Linked DNA regions of Homo sapiens: region 2 is linked to region 1. The links are contacts of gene promoters, found by promoter capture Hi-C in blood cells and fetal thymus (Javierre and others, 2016). All regions are on one chromosome and are shown on one strand. The core of a region is centred on a gene start or on the middle of the fragment in contact, and the rest is flanking DNA. Distances in the headings are between cores, read along the strand shown.

Evidence for each region. Contacts are between HindIII fragments. The CHiCAGO score rates a contact against its expected background, and 5 or more counts as called.
Region 2: a contact is called between a fragment that was not itself captured here and the fragment with the promoter of GLRX3 in region 1, in 1 of 17 cell types (naive B cells). The highest score is 7.4, in naive B cells.

What each region holds. Positions count from the first base shown.
Region 1 is chr10:130,132,522-130,138,777 of GRCh38, reverse strand. GLRX3 (glutaredoxin 3) reads right to left here and starts at 2,387. Exons shown (of 11, transcript NM_006541.5): 1 at 2,266-2,387. The coding sequence starts at 2,357. It overlaps LOC105378561 (a long non-coding RNA gene), which reads left to right and starts at 2,407. Exons shown (of 6, transcript XR_001747659.2): 1 at 2,407-5,319. RefSeq lists enhancers at 7-641, 642-1,277, 1,556-1,605 and a silencer at 1,806-2,405. The HindIII fragment of the contact is 5,217 bases long and covers 1,048-6,256 here.
Region 2 is chr10:128,261,516-128,267,845 of GRCh38, reverse strand. No RefSeq gene overlaps it. Among named protein-coding and RNA genes, the nearest start is that of LINC01163, 21 kb to the left of the region's middle. The HindIII fragment of the contact is 6,673 bases long and covers 1-6,330 here.

The DNA.
Region 1 (6,256 bases), core at 1,138-3,637:
GACAAAACAGCCTTTCAGGTGATGGTAAATTCAAAACGTTTACTTAGGGCAGGTCCACACAAGACCTGCTCATTTCAAGAGGCCACTTCTGGTGACTCCTGTGATTGTGCTGATCTGTACTGGATGAGTCAGAGCCCAGCTTCCATCAGTGAGTAAATGTCACATGTCCCTCCCCAACCCCTGCTTTTTTCCGTAACAATTTCCCAGGTAAACCTGAAATGCCTAAAGAGCTGTTTAAATAACACTTTAATTTCATCACCCCCATAAAGCATTTCTAACCATTAGTCAGTAACTCGCACCCCTCCCCATTTCCAAAGGCAACACCCCATCTCACCTGCACTCTCCATTGCAAAATCAGAGTACTACTTGCCTCTAATTCAAATTCAGTCGGCAAAATTTCACTCAATTTAGATCAACAGGGCAGGTCACGGGGGCTCAAGCCTGTAATCCCGATACTTTACAAGGCCGAGGCAGGCGAATCACTTGAGCTCAGGAGTTCCAGAGACCAGCCTGGGCAACATGAGGAAACCCTGCCTCTACGAAAAATACACAAATTAGCCCAGCGTGGTGGACCGCACGTGTAGTCCCAGATACTCAGGAGGCTGAGGTGGGAGGATCGCTTGAACCCAGGAGGTAGAGGCTGCAGTGAGCCGAGATCACGCCACTGCACTCAGCCTGGGCAACAGAGCAACAGCCTGTCTCGAAAACAAACAAAACAAAATTTAGATCAATAAGCATTTCTGGCCGGACGTGGTAGCTCACACCTGTAATCCCAACCCTTTGGGAGGCTGAGGAGGGCAGATCGCTCGAGTCCAGAAGGTCGAGACGAGGCTGGGCAACATGGCGAGACCTCGTCTCTATAAAAAAAAATAAAAATTAGACGGGCGTGGTGGTGAGCACCTGTGGTCCCAGCTACTCGGGAGGATGAGGTGGGTCGATCACTTGAGCCTGGGAGGCGGAGGCTGCAGGGAGCCGTGATCGCTCCACTACACTGCAGCCTGGGTGACAGAGCCAGACCCTGTCTCAAAAACAAAACAAAACAAAGCTTTTTGCCTGTGAATTCCATGAACCATTCTACTTCCTACTGAAATACTAAGTGCCAACATCTACTGAGTGCTTCCTGCATACTAGGCATTGTATTATTTGTATTTTACATACGTCATCTCATTTAACCCTCACAACAACCCTGAGGTACTAACAGGTGCTAATCTATGTCACCGTCGGGAAACTGAGGCTTGGGCATGAAACGTGCCCAGGGGTTACATGGCTACTGAGTGGCTGCGGTGGGACTGGATCCCAGGCAATCCGACATAAGAGTTCCCATAACAACCGCTAATAATACAACTAAGAGAACAACTCAGTCCTTGGAGTAGTCTACAATGTGAGGTGGTATTATCACGGAGAGTCCACGTGCAGACCTTTCCCTGCAGGCACGCACGCTAGTAAGCATTTACTCGTAAGCATGCTTGCAGTTCAGAGCTTCTAGTCCACCCAGAAAACGCTTTCTATGCATTCCTCTGGATCTCCTTTTGTAGTCTTCCCAGGGATTGAAGACCTGGACACCGGCGCCAAATCTGAACAGACTCTCACTACACCAGTTCATGGAACAGGAAATCTCTGTCTCCGGCAACAGGTTAAGTCTGAAGACTGAGGCTACCTGCTGTCCAACAAACTTTAAAGGCTGACTTCAAAAGGCAGCCAGGCCTAGCTAATGCAACGGGGCCTTCCCTCGCCGCTCTTCCTGCGACAGGGGCGTTCCTGAAGGGAGGCTGAAGAGCAATGGGCCGACGCCGAGCCTGCCGCTCCCTCCCGGCGGGCACAGGAAAGGTGGAGCCCGCAGCCGTGGGTCCCGCTCCGTGGCGCGGAGGGCCGGGGTCTCGGCGCCGCCCCGTCCCCCGCCCCGCCACTGCGGCACGGCTGAGTCACCACCGCCTCCGTCCCGCGGCGGGGCCGCCCAGGCCAGAGGCCGGGAAGGTCGCGTCCCCCGGGCTTGGACAGCCGTCGGGGTCGGAGCCAGGGCTGGGGCCGGGGCTTCCAGGCGAGCCTCGCGCCCTGCTCGCTGTTCCGGGGCGGGGAACCTGCGGCTCGGGCCACTCACGCGGAGGCTCGGGGGAGTCTACGGGTGGCGCCGGGCCCGGTCCCCCGAGGCCGAAGGGAGCCGGGCACCAAGAAGCCAGGCTGGGCCACCCGCCGCCCCACACCGGCCCGGTCTCGCGGCCGCTCCCGCTCCGGCTCCTCACTCCTACCGCTCGCCGCCCCGCTTACTTGGCTTTGAGGCGCAGCAGCTCCTCAAACTGCCCGGCTGAGCCGACCTCCTCCACGGCCGCTACAGCTGCCTCAGCCGCCCCCGCCGCCATGCTGCCGCCGCCAGACAGAAGCAATCCAGTGCCGGCGGCCGGATGTGGGCGGGGCCACGGGGAGCTGAGCGGCTGCGCGAGGGAAAGCCCCGCCCCTGCCTGCGCTGAGGCTGCCGAGCCTGAGAAATCCCAAAAGGGGCCTCGGCGGCGGGCTCTGGATCCCGCTGGGGGGCTCTGACCCTGCCAAGTCTGGGCACTCCGCTGCGGGCCTCCTGGCTCCCGGGGTTCATGGCTGTTATGGTTCCTGGCTGTCGGGGCTCCTGGCTTTCGGGGCTCCCTGGCTGAAGGGGCTCCTGGCTGTAGGGGCTCCTGGCTATGGAGGTTCCCGGTTATAAGGGCTTCTGGATGTAGTGGATTCTGGCCGTCGAGGTCCCTGGCTGTCGGGGCTCCTGGCCGTAATGGCCCCTGGCTGTCGGGACCCCTGGGTGTCGGGGTTCCTGGCTGTCGGGACCCCTGGGTGTCGGGGTTCCTGACTGTAGGGGCTCCTGGGTGTTAGGGTTCCTGGCTATAGCAGGGGCTCCTGGGTGTCGGGGTTCCTTGCTGTCAGGGCTCCTGGTGGTAGAGGCTTCTTGCTGTTGGCTTCCTGGCTGTCGGGGTGACTGGGTGTCAGGGCTCCTGGTGTTAGGGTTCCTGGCTTCCTGGCTGTAGTAGGGGCTCCTGGGTGTCGGGGTTCCTTGCTGTCAGGGCTCCTGGTGGTAGAGGCTTCTGGCTGTTGGGGTTCCTGGGTGCCAGGGCTCCTGGGTGTCAGGGTTCCTGGCTGTCAGGACACCTGACTCCTGAGGCTCCTGGCTTTTGGGGCTCCAGACCTTCCTTGCACTTCCTGTGTCTCCTGGGTCTGTAATAGAAGGGGCCGGTGGAGGGGTGGGGGTGAGACATGTGAGTGAAAGTGAAGTCAGATGTGTACATTTAGGAAGCTGAAATTATCAAAAATGAAATTGCATAAAGGTGAGGAAGAACTGGGAGGTCTGGGAACAGAAGTGGTAGATCTTGAACTTCAACACAGACAGGGTGCTTCCAATTCAGTCCTGGGACCTGAACCCGGAGCCCACAGCATGTCCCTCCTCCCCTGGCCCTCCGCGCGTGCCGCCACTCATTGCAGCCCCACAGAGCCATCACCCATTGTAACCTCAGAACAGAAGGGGCTGGGTGGGTCCACAGATCCCTGCACTCCTCCCGTCTTGCCTCCTTGGATGATCCCTGGCTTGTCTTTCTCCCTTGGGAATCCCCCTGATGTTGGCTCTCCATGTGGTGTACTCTGTACCCCACACCCCATGCTTCCCACACACCTTCTGGCCTGAGTAATCTCCATGCCCCCAGTGACATCAACCTCCAGGGAAACCTCAATAGCAAGCCCAGAACCCTCCCCTGCATCCCAGAGCCTAGCATCCACTAACTTTGAGGAGGGGCCATCTTTTATTGGATATCCCCAAACCACACTGGGCCTTCCCTCCAAAGTGCCTCTCCTCTTGGTTCCCATCTCAGGGAACACCATCGCTCCCACCCAGACACTTGGGGCTCCTTCTGACTGGTCCCCCTGCTGTCCCTGGGCTTTGAGGCCAAGCCCCCACAGAGCCTTCCCTACTAGCCAGGTGTTCCCAGGCCTCCTTTGCTTGCTTCTACCGTGGCCTGTCTCATGTTGTAGAACTGTGCTTGTCCTCCATTGGCCTGTGTTCTTAAAGGGCAGGAGCTGATCTGTGTCTCAGTGCCTGGATCAGAGTCAGACACATAGGAGGTACTCAGTCCATGCTAACAGCTGCCAGAGGACTGGGCTCACTGGATTGCAAAGACTTCGTACGAGAAAAGTAGCATATCATTCATACTTTTTATATTGATTACATGTTGAAATGAGGATATTTGGATATATTCGGTTTTCTGAAATATATTATTTAAATTGGTCTCTTTTACCTTTGGCTCCTGAGAAATGTCTAATTTCATAGGCAACTTTCATTCGTGGCCCTTGAATTTTCTTGGGCAGCACTACTGTGGTGTTTAAAAGCCTTTTGGAGCCTGTCACATGTATACCTCACCTGGAGAAATACATGGTATTGAACACGGTAAATTGTGTTATTTAAAATGCAACAGGAGAGTGATGAGGAACCATTTTGTATCTTGCCTGTGGTGGTGAGAACACAAACTAAACATGATAAAATTGTATAGAACTTGGCTGGGTGCTCTGACTCACACCTGTAATCCCAACAATTTGGAAACCCCAGACAGGAGGATCACTTGAGCCGAGGAGTTGGAGACCAGCCGGGCAACATAGGAAGACCCGGTCTCTACAAAAATATATATATATATATGAGTCAGGCATGGTGGCTCACACTTGTGGGCCCAGGTAGGTGAGAGGCTGAGGTGAGAAGATCACTTGAGCCTGGGAGTTGGAGGCTGCAGTGAGCCATGATCCTGCCACTGCTACTGCCCACTAACCTGGGCGACAGAGCAAGACCCTGTCTCAAAAACAAAAACAACGCACACACACACACACACGCATGCACGCGCGCACGAGTACAAGTAAAACTGGGAAAATCTGAAAAAGATCAGTCGATTGTTTATAAATATCAACATCCTGGTTGCAGTATTACAGTTTTGCAAGGTGTTGTCATCGGAAGAAAGTGTACACAGGATCTGTATTATTTCTCACAACTGCATGTGAATCTACAGTTGTTTTAAACTAAAAAGTTTAGTTAAAAACCATGTAAATAAGACTTTAAAGTTTACTATGAAAAGAATGCAATAGGAGGGAAAAAAGACACCATGTCAAAAAAAAAGAAAAAGATACCATGTCATAAAACAAGATACACATTCTGGTTATCACTTTTTTTCTTTTCTTTTCTTTGAGATGGAGTTTTGCTCCTGTTGGCCAGGCTGGAGTGCAATGGCGTGATGTCGGCTCACCGCAACCTCCACCTCCCGGGTTCAAGCGATTCTCCTGCCTCAGCCTCCCAAGTAGCTGGGATTACAGGTGTGTGCCACCACGCCCGCCTAATTTTGTATTTTTAGTAGAGACGGAGTTTCTCCATGTTGGTCAGGCTGGTCTCGAACTCCTGACCTCAGGTGATCCGCCCGCCTCGGCTTCCCAAAGTGCTGGGATTGCAGGTGTGAGCCACTGTGCCCGGCCTGTGATTATCATTTTTAAGTAGAATTGAATGTAAATAAAACATATAACTATATCAGTGAATGGCTCATAGAAAAGGGTCTCCAGAAGGATGCTCCCCAAATTATTATCAGAGCTTGCCTCCAGAGGGCAGAAACAGAGGAGAGCTAAAGGGAGGCCCTTCACTTTGACTTACACACTTCTTTGTGTCATTTGCTTGTTTTCTAATAGCATAGACTGCTTTTGACATTTAAAAAATAATGAAATTGTATTGCACAGGGGAAATGTGCTATAGTGAATCCTTTTCAAAAAAAAAAGCAGTAATCACCCCTCAAATGTGGCTGTTTTATAAATGCTGATTTTTCTTTTATTTTTTATTTTTTGAGACGGAGTCTTGCCCTGTCACCCAGACTGGAGTGCAGTAGCGCGATCTGAGCTCACTGCAAGCTCCGCCTCCCGGGTTCATGCCATTCTCCTACCTCAGCCTCCCGAGTAGCTAGGAATAGAGGCGCCTGCCACCACGCCCGGCTAATTTTTTGTATTTTTAGTAGAGATGGGGTTTCACCGTGTTAGCCAGGATGGTCTCGATCTCCCGACCTCGTGATCCGCCCACCTCGGCCTCCCAAAGTGCTGGGATTACAGGCGTGAGCCACCGCCCCCGGCCCGCTGATTTTTCTTTTAAATGGAATTTGCTGAAAGTGGCACAAACCAGTTGCAGAGCAGACTCTAAAAAAAATGCTATGAAAACTCCTGGATAACACTTCCATTTCTGCCCTTTTTGTAGTTTATTATTGTAGGGGCCACA
Region 2 (6,330 bases), core at 1,745-4,244, 1.9 Mb after region 1:
AGTGAGTGAATGAGAGAAAGAAGGAAGAGAAGGAAGGAGAGAGGAAAGGAAGGAGGAGGAAGGGAGGGAGGAAAGAAAGGAAAGAGGGAGGAAAAGAAAGAAAGGGAAGAGAAGGGGAAAGAACAAAACGAGGGAAATGAAAACATCGTCTGCACTTGGCTTTCATTCAGAATGTTCTGTGGGTACAGAAAATGTGGTCCCTCTGGGGACTGACACAGATAAAGGAAAACACTGAAAAGTACCCCAAGTCTCCACCTGGCTTGTTTGGGTGAACGGGTCCCCTCAGAGCCTCAGTTTCCCTATCGGTAAAATGAGAAACTTGGGGGGTCATCAGATTCCACCCCGGTGACCTCCTGACGCTGCTTTCACCCTCCAGCACACCAAGCCTCCAGACCTCGCTGCTAGGCTCACAAAAATGCCTGCTTTGGGCCGGGCGCGGTGGCTCACGTCTGTAATCCCAGCACTTTGGGAGGCCGAGGTGGGCGGATCACGAGGTCAGGAGATTGAAACCATCATGGCTAACACGGTGAAATCCCGTCTCTACTAAACATACAAAAAATTAGCCTGGCGTGGTGGTGGGCGCCTGTAGTCCCAGCTACTTGGGAGGCTGAGGCAGGAGAATGGCATGAACCCAGGAAGCAGAGCTTGCAGTGAGCCGAGTTCGTGCCACTGCATTCCAGCCTGGGCGACAGAGTGAGACTCCGTCTCAGACAAAAAAAAAAAAAAAAATGCCTGCTTTGAATTTCAACTTTTTTCCTCTCTGAATTCTAGATTACAATGTTTTCAAGTAGGAAAAAAAAAAAAAGCAGAAAAGAAGAAACCAAAGGAGAAGGACTGAGGGTCCAAATGGTTTTGTAACCAGATGAGGATCTTCATCTCTCTTTTGAAATAAAAATGTAAGGAAAACATCAGTTATGGTACAGGGAAACCAAATACTGCAGAGAGAGAGAGGGAGAGGGCAGCTGTCTCCATCCGGCTGGCTGTGGTCACTTTACTGACACACAAAACCATCCACACCCCAGCTCACCCCAAAGTTTTGGGGGTGGAATAAGGGCATATTGATCAGTTACAGGCAATAGATGGAAAGGCCGTACCCCCACGAAGTTTATCATTGTTTATCAAAAGCCTAAATAATAATAATATCCACTCGCATATGCACATCTATTTCTAAGGTCTTGGAGGGCAAAGGCCTTGTATTTGATTCCTAACTTTCTTGCTTCCATGAGAACCCAGGGATATGAAGGGATTTTTGTCTAAGGTCATGCTGAGAAGAGAATAGCCAGGAATCCTGGCTCCAGTCTCTGCCCTCATCTCCTGTCTTATAAAGTACACATAAAAGGTACAATTATGAGAAATGAGCCCATTTTGTCATGAAATTCCATATCATATCATTGCTCAGGTATTGAAAACAAGCCCAACCTGGGCTGAAGCAGACGTGGGTATTCATGGGGTCCTGTAGTCCTTCCATAATTTAAATGCTACAATGGAGTCCTGAGGTCTAACAAAACAGTATACAGTAAGTCCCCATTTGCAGCAGATTGGTTAAATGGGTGTTTTTTTAATGCAAATTAGTTCAAATTGCTATCAAGAGTAATTATTGTAAAAGAAAGGCGGTGTTTCCATCATCCTTCCCTCATTTCGTTCTTCTATAGTCTCTTTTAAATAACTTAGCCATAAAATTTCAATTGACCACTAAAAAAAAAAAAAAGAAAAGAAAAGAAAAGTGGTGCAATCAGCGGCAGAGAGAAAAGGGTGAAAGAGGTAGAAGGAGGGCCGGCCCCCACAGAGTGAGGGTCCTCACCAGCCCCCTGGCGGAGCCTCCCAGGACCCCCGGTCCTAGATGCCAGCGACCCCGCGCCCCACCGTTCGTGGGCCCCCCGCCCCCCCAACCCGGATCAATCTCTCCCCTCTACCCCGCGCCCCCCGCAGGTCTCTGAGATGTGCGGCTGCCCCGCGGGGCGACTTCCCACGCGCTCCCCTCTGCTATGGTCGGCGGTTCCTCCAGAAGATGGGAAAAAGAGGCCGAGTCCCCACGATGCGCCCCCAGTCGCCAAGGCGCGCGCCCCTTTTCCCCGGCCGCGCAGGTCCGCTGCTGGAGCCAATGCATTATAATAATATTAGGTAAAACAGCGCGAGCATACGAGGTGGAAAATTGCATCTCTTTTGTTCTAAATTTGCCAACGTCTAAATCTTAAGGGAGGTATTTTTATTTTACATATTTGTTAATGGGATCTGTTTCTTATTGCCCAAAAATGCTTAATATACAAAAGGAATCAGATTCTCTTTCTGGCCTTAATTCATCATAACAAACAGAAATAGAAACTTGATTTCAAATTTCGCTCTGCCTCGCATCTCCAATTCATATTCGCGGCACATCCATCATTAATAGCGTCTAGAGGAGCCCTTTTATTTACCTATTATGGCATCGTTTGTAACATAAAACTGTTGTGTTCTCTTTTCATTAACAGATTCAGTTGCAAATGCTGGGGAAAAAAATTACAAAGAGCCCCTTTTTAAAATGTGCACATTTATTGGGATTATTAAATCACAGCAGCTAATAGTGGTTGTCACCAACTTAATTTAAAAAGTTGATTATTACTCAAGCCCTATGTATTCCAGGCCTGATACTGTATAATTAGCAGTTGTGATTATTTAGTTAATTTGTAGATTAGGAACAAGTGTCTGTTTTGAAAAATGTGGCACTCGACCTTCAGACACAGAGAGGGACGAGCCAGCCCCTCTTACCAGGGACAAAAGTATTCTGTCAGAAAAATGCATTTTGATGCAGGTCAACAGGAAAAAGGGGACATTTTACAGATCATCTGCCTGCATCTTTCCAGCCAAAAGTCCAGTGCAAAAGCCACTCCAGAAGTGTTTAAATTAGGTGCCTCCCTGGTGGGGCCAAATCAAATCAAATGGCACACTCGGAGCCTAAACAAGTTAAAAGATGGTCCTTGTGGGTAGGAGCCACTAAAGCCATAGTAACTAGACAAAAACATCCTAGTGACCCTCGCTCAATAGAGATTCGGCCATTAAGACTGGTCCAAGGTGGAGAGCCACTGGACTTGGGAACAGACCCCATCTCTTATGCATTATTTCTATTGCCACTTTGTCATCAGTCATATGATGGTAATAAAATTTGTAACTGTTTCCCTTATACTCCCTGCGATTTACCTCATCTAATAGACAATGCAAATGCTAAAAGGCACATATACATCTTCATTATATAAGCCGGTGTCTGAGCCACTCTCCTCCAGAGACAGTTTTATTCATTTTTATACAATTTGCCTACTGTACAGTACAGATGGTTTCTATTAAGTAAAATATCTGTTTTCTTCCAAATTTTTAGTTTTCATGATTAAATTACTTTAAAATGATGGTACATTGTATTATCTTCTTTCATGACTTAATTTAGCTCAAATACTCCCAGCATAAACTGTAAGCCCAGCTTTATCCACTCAGAAAATCGGCCACATACTGTGATTTTCTGAGGGTTATTTCACCCTGACTGTGATTCCTATTCTGTATCAATTACTTTCGTTCGAGTCTTAACTATATGGATTATTTTCTGGAGATAAATTTGAATATGAATATAAATGGAAATTTTGGACTAATATTAAAATAAGATTTCTTCCCTAAGCTGTTTACAATTTGAGACATTGTTTGTCATTGTTAGTATGCAAGTTTTGCATGCTGGTGTCTCAGCCACAGAGTGGCTTGCAATTCGAAATATTCAAAACTGCTGCCCCCAAGTGGCGGGTCCTTGAGCCGTTTTCCCTTTCCAGCCTTGCTGCATGCACAGTCTGAATTTTGAAGTGGCTGCGTGCACGCTCCTATTTCAGCAGGAAGGAGAGCTTGAAGGTGCAGTCTGTAGCCCATCTTCCCACAGCCGGGATCATTCTCTGGATCTCGGCTCTACTGAACGTTGAGAGCTCATTTCTGAAGGCTTGGAACCATCAGCCTACTTGTCTCACTGTATTAGTGTGATACTAGGCAAATGTGGCCCTGGGAATTTCTCCCTTTTTTAACATTTCGCATATTCATATTTTATTTTTGCACTCACGCTTTCTAACTTTTCCCACTGGAATGCTGCCTGCAGCCAGGTCCAGTGCTGCTGGCTCCTGCCCTCACCGGCTTTTCTCAAACTTGCTCACTTCCCACCAGCCTCAATAGCCCCAGACCTTGAACACAAACCCTCCTGCACTCAAGCAAAAACACAAGGAAGGGAAAATTGCAACATTTCCAGGAGGAAAAGCAGTTTATGCTCAGGAAAGGAAGGGAGCCACCAGCAGTAGGAGAAGAAGAAGAGGGACAGAGGAGGAGAGGGGTCCTGGGCAGTCCAGCTGGAAACGGACTTCACAGCACAGTCTGGGTTCTAGAACGAGCCCGAGGAGCCCTTGCAATTTGCTCTGCAGAAGCCTGCCAAGGCTGGGAGCTGGAGGTGGCCCTCTGGAATTGATGGGTCCACCATGGGCCCTCACCTTGGAGCTCCCTCAGAGCTGTGGGGGCTGATTCCCATCACACCTTCTTTCTGTCTCTCCCTGACACCAGCTGCAGTGGCAGTGGGGCCAGAAAGACCAGAAAGTGTCTCAGTGAGTCCCCAAAGCACATGGCATGACACAGTCCTTCCAGACGTGAGGGTAGAGGAAGACCGGAGAGACTCCAGTTCTAGTCCCAGCTCCCACCTGCGACCCCAGGCAGGCCAATTAACCTATCTGGGGCTCCCTGTCTGGGGGATGTTATGAAGATCAAATGAAATAATAGGCCTGGAGAGGCTTTGAAACAGTTCAAAGTGTCTGACAGACATAAGGCATGATTTTGACTCTGAGGTTCACCTTAGGCTCATCACCAGAGCAGATCCCAGAACTGCACAGCCCGCCCCAGACCAAGAGCAAGTGAGGCCTGGGTGCAGCGACTCATCTCAGAGATAGATTTCTAACTAAAACCAGGTAGTTTGCCATGGTACAGTATCAGAAGCATTTGTTGTTGTTTGTTATTGTTGTGATTGTTTTTGAGACAAGGTCTTGCCCTATGGCCCAGGCTGGATAATGCAGTGGCGGAATCATGGCTCATTGCAGCCTCTACCTCCTGGACTCCAGCAATCTTCCTATCTCAGCCTCCCATGTAGCTGGGACCATAGGTGTGCACCATCATGCCTGGCTAATTTTTGTATTTTTTGTAGAGATGAGGTCTCACTGTGTTGCCCAGGCTGGTCTCGAGCTCCAGACCTCAAGTGATCCTCCAGCCCCAGCTGGCCAAAGTGCTGAGATTATAGGAGTGAGCCACTGCACCTGGCCAGAGGGGTTTTCTAACAAATAAATCTTGACATGAGTGAGTGTTTCTTTCTCAATGCAATGGCCCTCTGGAAGACCCCCTCTTGCACTTACGACTTGGCTGGGTGATACAATCCCACTTTAAGCCAGCTCAGAGTTTGGTTAACATGACATAAATAGATCCAAGTTAATGAGACAAAGGATGAAGGGGTGAGGGAATGCATTGTCTTCTTAATCAACTGTTTGTTTTCTTAATCAACTGTTTGTTTCATAGAAAACAAAACATAGGAGAAATCCCTACAAATCCCTACAAAAGCCCCTGCAATAGGTTTGTCCCTGCCTGCAATGCTCACCAACCAACAGGCTGCCAGGCTTGATCCAAAATGACCACCAGGACCCGCCAGTCGCATCTCTGTCAATGGGGGTAGATGGAGATGCCCACAAAGACCTGGTTAATTCTGCAACCAAGACACATCTGGCCTCTGTACCGCAGAGGGAATTAGGATTATCTGGATAATTGTCTTAACCTCTGCTACTCCTTGCTTCCTGAGACCCAGCCAGTGGGTCTGGGTCTCAACCCCACCCCCAGATCTCATGCACCCAAAGGCATCCAATACTTTCCTACCAGGTGCTAGAAAGCCAAGTCCCACAGAGGGTTATCACCCAGCCATGCACAGCCACTGAGACACAGCTCCATCCAATTAAAGAGAGATTGGGAAACAGTCAGGCCCGGAAGGATCTAAGCTCAGGCTAACGCACCTGAGAGACCCACATAAGAATCACAGGCCTGGAGAGCAATTTCTCCACCAGCCTGGTTAATCTTCCTCCTCCTCCCCCTCCCAGAAACGCCCATATGAACCCTATAAAATCATTCCACCCAAAACTACAGGCAGTTTGGATGCAGTCACTCAGCTCTTAGAAAAAATCCAAACATGCAAAGGCAGTTGCAGCAGCTTTGCTCTAGTGCAGGGACGCACACCCCAGGAGGAGGGGTACAGCAGGGTGGGCCACCTTCCCTGCTGTGGACAGTGAAAATGATCAGGAACGTCCAAAAGCT